Linked DNA regions of Homo sapiens: region 1 is linked to region 2. The links are contacts of gene promoters, found by promoter capture Hi-C in human tissues and cell types (Jung and others, 2019). All regions are on one chromosome and are shown on one strand. Each heading gives the region's core, a stretch centred on a gene start or on the middle of the fragment in contact. The rest is flanking DNA. Distances are from core to core; before and after follow the strand shown. Region 1 overlaps EPS8L1 (EPS8 signaling adaptor L1). Region 2 holds the start of GP6 (glycoprotein VI platelet).

The links. The method cuts DNA at HindIII sites, captures the fragments that hold promoters and counts their contacts. A contact is called where the count stands out against the background at its distance.
Region 1: a fragment that was not itself captured here is called in contact with the fragment with the promoter of GP6 in region 2 in 1 of the 25 tissues and cell types used here (neural progenitor cells).

What each region holds. Positions count from the first base shown.
Region 1 is chr19:55,081,534-55,084,480 of GRCh38, forward strand. EPS8L1 (EPS8 signaling adaptor L1) reads left to right here. Exons shown (of 20, transcript NM_133180.3): 9 at 240-366; 10 at 559-647; 11 at 742-816; 12 at 921-1,069; 13 at 1,845-1,986; 14 at 2,083-2,111. Among named protein-coding and RNA genes, the nearest start is that of EPS8L1, 7.1 kb to the left of the region's middle. The HindIII fragment of the contact is 6,949 bases long and covers 1-2,947 here.
Region 2 is chr19:55,036,713-55,039,731 of GRCh38, forward strand. It overlaps GP6 (glycoprotein VI platelet), which reads right to left and starts at 1,552. Exons shown (of 8, transcript NM_016363.5): 1 at 1,491-1,552. The coding sequence starts at 1,524. All of the region lies in intron 2 of GP6-AS1 (GP6 antisense RNA 1), which reads left to right. It also overlaps a transcript of RDH13 not described here. The HindIII fragment of the contact is 34,893 bases long and covers 1-3,019 here.

The sequences.
Region 1 (2,947 bases), core at 444-2,943, 45 kb after region 2:
CTGGAGGCGGGGCTAGGGCGTGGAAGGGCGGGGCCGGCTGCGGGACGGGCGTTCTCTGGTCAGACTTCTGCGTTATGGAAGAGGGGCTGGGTCGGGGGCGGGGCTTGGTTGTGGGGCGTGGCCAGGTGTTTGGGGCGTGGCCTGATCTGGGGAAGTGTATAGGTGCTCAGGTTCAGGGCTTCGACGGGGATGGTTTTGGAACTCGGGAGCCCTGAGCGTCCCCCTCCTCTGTCCCCTAGGACATCCTGAACCACGTGTTCGACGACGTAGAGAGCTTTGTATCGAGGCTGCAGAAGTCGGCGGAGGCGGCCAGGGTGCTGGAGCACCGGGAACGCGGCCGCAGGAGCCGGCGCCGGGCGGCTGGGGGTAAGGGGCACCCTGGCGTGGGATCTGAACCCCCTCCCGATCTCTTCCAAATGTCCCCGCTCTCCCCAGGCTCTCCCCTCCCGCCACTTGCCAGGGCTGACCTCACCGCCATCTTAACCGGGTGTCCACCTCTCTCTGCCTGCCTGGTGCTGGCCCCGCGTCCCCATCGCCGCGCCCGTCTGCTCCCCTCAGAGGGCTTGCTGACGCTGCGGGCCAAGCCGCCCTCGGAGGCCGAGTACACCGACGTGCTGCAGAAGATCAAGTACGCCTTCAGCCTGCTGGTGAGGACGCGCCCGCCCCTGGGCCGGGGCGCGGGCACGACGAACCTGTCCCGTCCCCGCACCCACGCCAACCACCTCCCTCCCCACGCCCCAGGCCCGGCTGCGCGGCAACATCGCCGACCCCTCCTCTCCGGAGCTGTTGCACTTCCTTTTCGGGCCTCTGCAGATGGTGAGACCCGCCCCAGGCCCTCGGGCCCCCCTGCAGCGGGAGGAATCGGGTTCGACTTGTAGAAGGTGTGGCGGCACAGCCTGCCCCTCCTGCTCCCCTGACAGATTGTGAACACGTCGGGGGGGCCGGAGTTCGCGAGCAGTGTGCGGCGGCCGCATCTGACATCGGATGCCGTGGCGCTGCTGCGGGACAACGTCACTCCACGTGAAAACGAGCTCTGGACCTCGCTGGGGGACTCGTGGACCCGCCCCGGGTGAGGGGCGGGGCTGGGAGGCAGGGGGCATGGTGATTGGAGGAGCATAAGGCGCTGGGAGGTGGGTGGCATGATGATTGGAAAATAGGACTAGGAGAGTAGGGAGGGGTTAGAGGCGTGGCTTAGTTGTGTTGGGGCGGGGCTTAGGACAGATGCCAAGATTCAATTGGAGGAAAGGCCAGGAATTAACGTGAAGGAAAGATTTAAGACCACCAGACCAATCGGATTGAAAGAAAAGGGGGGCTTAAAGGAATAGAGGGGCTAGGGGCTACGGGGCAGGGGCGGGGCTACGCGAAGGGGCGGGGCTTCTGGAAGGTTTGGTCTATAACTTTGGTGATGGGACAGAGTCTGTGCACTGCGGGCTGGCAGTTCCGCAGGGAAAGGGTCAGAACCTGAAACCGACCTTACGGAAAACCTGATTTGGAATCAGGTGAGATTTAGAGGCTGGATAAGGCAATTTTTTTCCAGAGAGAGAGATGGATGGGGTCTCAATATTTTGCCCAGGCTGGTCTGGAACTCCTGGCCTCAAGCGATCCTCCCATCTTGGCCTCCCAAAATGCTGGGATTACAGGCGTGAGCCACCGTGCCCGGTCTAGAAATATAAATTGCTGTTGAGTTGGGCTTAGAGCTACCGGCAGGACTTGGTGAAAAGTGGCGGGGCTAGAATCGTTGGAATACAGCGAGCTTTAGGGGAAAACTTAGTGAAGTTAATGCAGGAACGAAGTTGGGGGCTGTATCAGGATCCCTGAGCTCTTGGCCCTGTCCCTGGCCGCAGGCTGGAGCTGTCCCCGGAGGAGGGACCCCCATACAGACCCGAGTTCTTCAGCGGCTGGGAGCCGCCGGTCACTGACCCGCAGAGCCGCGCCTGGGAGGACCCAGTTGAGAAACAGCTACAGCACGAGCGGAGGCGCCGGCAGGTGACCCAAGCGACACAGCAGGGCCGAGGCTGGGAAGTCCGGGGGCGCGGCCGGTCCGCCTGGCCCCGCCTGACCCGACTGTCTTACTTCCTACAGCAAAGCGCCCCCCAGGTCGCTGTCAATGGGTGAGTGTCCGCCCCAGGGCAGGGCAAGGGGGTCAAGGAGGGGTGCGTCCCGGGGGCTCCCGATGCTGACTCCGCCCCCTTTTTTTCTGTGTTTTTCCTTCTGTCTTCCTGGCTCTTCTCAGGTGGGTGAGATGGTGATGGGGCGGGCCGGGGCTGGGAGAGAGGGAGGAGCAGGGTGGGAGGGGGCGGGACCCAGACTTCTGGGGCTAAGGGAGTTGGGAATGGAGACCCGGATTCCTGGGCCTAAGGGAGGAAGGGGGCTGGGAGTGGGTAAAGTCTGAGAGGTTGGATCCCTGGATCCCCAAAAGGCTGGAAGAAGCCAGTTTGTTTTCCCAGGGCCTGGGAAGCACCATGCCTGGGCTCCCTAGGAGGACAGAGCCCTGGATATTGGAGGGGAGAGGCTGGGGAATTGGACCTTTGGGTTTTGAAGAAGAGCCCAAGTCTGGTGCTTGGGATCCTGGAGACCCAGAGGAGCAGGCTTGGGACTTCAAGGGCTTGGGGGCAAGTTTCTGGGAAAGTTAGGAAGTGGTAGTATCTCTGGGCCCCCGAGAGGGGTAAAGGCTGGACGATTAAACTCTTGGTTTTCCAGAGGCTCTAATGCAATTGTCTAAGTCGCTGCTGGGTGTCGGACTGGGTTAAAAGGTTTGAGGGTTAAAAGGATAAGATTGAAGCTTGAGACCTGGACTCCTAGGTCCCTGGGGGAGGAAAGAACATTCCAAGTCATGGTTCTACCAAGCAGTGGGGGCTCAGACTCTGGGTCCTGGGGGAGGGAAGGAGGTAGATGGACTAGAACTCTAGGGTCCTTGAGCAAATAGAGGGCAGACTGGAGGGAAGCA
Region 2 (3,019 bases), core at 302-2,801:
TAAATAAAAGTTAAAACAGGCTGGGTGCGGTGGCTCACGCCTGTAATCCCAGCACTTTGGGAGGCCGAGGCGGGTGGAACCTGAAGTAAGGAGCTTGAGACCAGCCTGGCCAACATGGTGAAACCCCGCCCCTACTAAAAATACAATAATTAGCCAGACCTGGTGGCAGATGCCTGTAATCCCAACTATTCGGGAGGCTGAGGCAGGAGAATCACTTGGACCCGGGAGGCAGAGTTTGCAGTGAGCTGAGATCATGCCATTGCATTCCAGCCTGAGCGACCGACTGAGCGAGACTCCATCTCAAAAAACAAACAAAAAGAAAAAAAGAATACATCCATGGATGGATAATGAATGAGAGGTTGTTTATATTCACAGTTAACCCTCTCATCTCCAGTAATGCAACCATCTTCTTCCTGCTTAGCCTTTTGGAGATGCTGTCCCTTTAGTGGTCAAATTCTGAAGAAATCAGGAAATAATGCATTCGACATGCCCAGCACAAGTGAAGATCAGGCAGCAGAAATGCATTCGACCTGCCACCCATCCATCAGGAGACTATTTACTCCACTACTGTAGGGGATACTGACAAATTAAATCCATACCTAGTCCAGATATCAATTCCACAATTTTTTTTTTTTTTTTTTTGAGACGGAGTTTCGCTCTTGTTGCCCAGGCCAGAGTGCAATGGTGTGATCTTGGCTCACCGCAACCTCCACCTCCCAGGTTCAAGCGATTCTCCTGCCTTAGCCTCCAGAGTAGCTGGGATTACAGGCATGTGCCACCACACCCGGCTAATTTTGTATTTTTAGTAGAGATGGGGTTTCTCCATGTTGGTCAGGCTGGTCTCAAACTCCCGACCTCAGATGGCCCACCCGCCTCGGCCTCCCAAAGTGTGTAAGCCATGGCACTCAGCCTTTTTTTTTTTTTTTTTTTTTTTTTTTGAGATGGAGGCTCTCTCTGTTGCCCAGGCTGGAGTGCAATGCCTGACCTCAGCTCACTGCAACTTCTGCCTCCCAGTTTCAAGCAATTCTCCCACCTCAGCCTCCCACGTAGCTGGGATTACAAGCACCCGCCATCACGCCCGGCTAATTTTTGTAGAGATGGGGTTTCACCATGTTGACCAGGCTGGTCTTGAACTCCTGACCTCAGGTGATCCACCCACCTCGGCCTCCCAAGGTTGAGATTACAGGCGTGAGCCACTGTGCCTGGCCCACATTTTTTAAAAAAGGGGCAACTGCAGTGTAGTAGAACAAAGTTGTGACCAATGCTAGGATACTCTGTTCATTTCCTGACCCAGCCATGAATACACTGGAATAACTCATGCAAAATGCCAGCTCGCTGGCCCCCCGTTTCCCCACCCAACAAATGAAGGGGCTCTTACAGGTTCCTTTTTGTCCTGAAATTCATCACCAATGCAAATTTCTTAAAAATCCTTTGTCTGGCAGTCCATGCCTGTCCTTCAGCATTTCCCAGATCTGACCCTCAGGACTCACCAAGACAGAAGAGGGCGGTCGGGGATGGAGACATGGTTCCTCAGCCCTGTCCTGAGCTCTGTGGCCAGGGAGGGAAGTGGTGGGAGCCTGGGGCACAGGCTCAGGATGTGATGAGGATGAAGAATGCTCTCCTCCCTTCCTCCACCAGCCCCGGCCTTTCCTAATTGAGACTCATCGAGCCGTAGCCGGCTCCTCAGTACAGTGACTTGCACACAAGCTCCAAGGAGCCGCGCTTATCTCCTCTGGCCAGCCTGGCGTTGCACCGTTTGTCCGCCTGCTGGGGCCTGGTCTGTGTTCCCGTGCTCCCATAAACTCCCTGATGTCACTAGGAAAATACGCATCAAAACCACAGTGAGATATGACTTCACACCTTCTGGAATGGCTGTATTTTTTTTTTTTCTTTTGAGACAAAGTCTCGTTCTTTTTGCCCAGGTTGGAGTGCAGTGGCGCCATCTCGGCCCACTACAACCTCCACCTCCCAGGTTCAAGCGATTCTCCTGCCTCAGCCTCCCAAGTGGCTGGGATTATAGGTATGTACCACACCAGGCTAATTTTTGTATTTTTAGTAGAGATGGGGTTTCACTGTGTTGGCCAGGCTGGTCTTGAACTCCTGACCTCAGTTGATCCACCTGCCTCGGTCTCCCAAAGTGCTGGGATTACAGGCATGAGCCACTGCACCCGACCGGCTATAATTTTTTTTAATGGAAAACAGCAGATATTGGTGAGTATGCAGAGAAATTGAACTGCGCGTGCATTGCTGGCAGGGACGTAACATGGCGCCCCTGCTGTGGAAAACAGTTCCAGCAGCTCCTCCAGAAGTTAAACGTGGGATTGCCATAAAATCCAGCAATTCCACTTCGGGGTACACACCTAAAAGAACTGAAAACAGGGTCTCTAACATATTTGTACACAGTGTTCATAGCAGCTTTATTCACAATAGCCAAAAGGTGAAACCACCCACATGTCCATCAACAACAATGGATAAACAACATGTGGTATATACACACAAGGTAATATCAACCAGCCTTAACTAAAAGAATAAAAATCAGCCAGGCACAGTGGCTCACGCCTGTAATCCCAGCACTTTGGGAGGCCGAGGCGGGCGGATCACCTGAGGTCAGGAGTCCGAGACCAGCCTGGTTAACATGGTGAAACCCCATCTCTACTAAAAATACAAAAATTAGCTGGGCGTTAAATTAGCCGGGCATGGTGGCAGGTGCCTGTAATCCCAGCTACTTGGGAGACGGAGGCATGAGAATCGCTTGAACCTGGGAGGCAGAGATTGCGGTAAGCCGAGATCGCACCACTGCACTCCAGCCTGGGCGGCAGAGTGAGACTGTCTCAAAAATAAAAATAAGGCCGGGCGTGGTGGCCCATGCCTGTAATCCTAGTACTTTAGGAGGCTGAGGCAGGCAGATTGCCTGAGCTCAGCAGTTCAAGACCAGCCTGGGCAACACAGTAAAACCCCCAAAAAATACAAAAAAAAAATAGCCGGGCATGGCGGCAGGCACCTGTAGTCCCAGCTACTC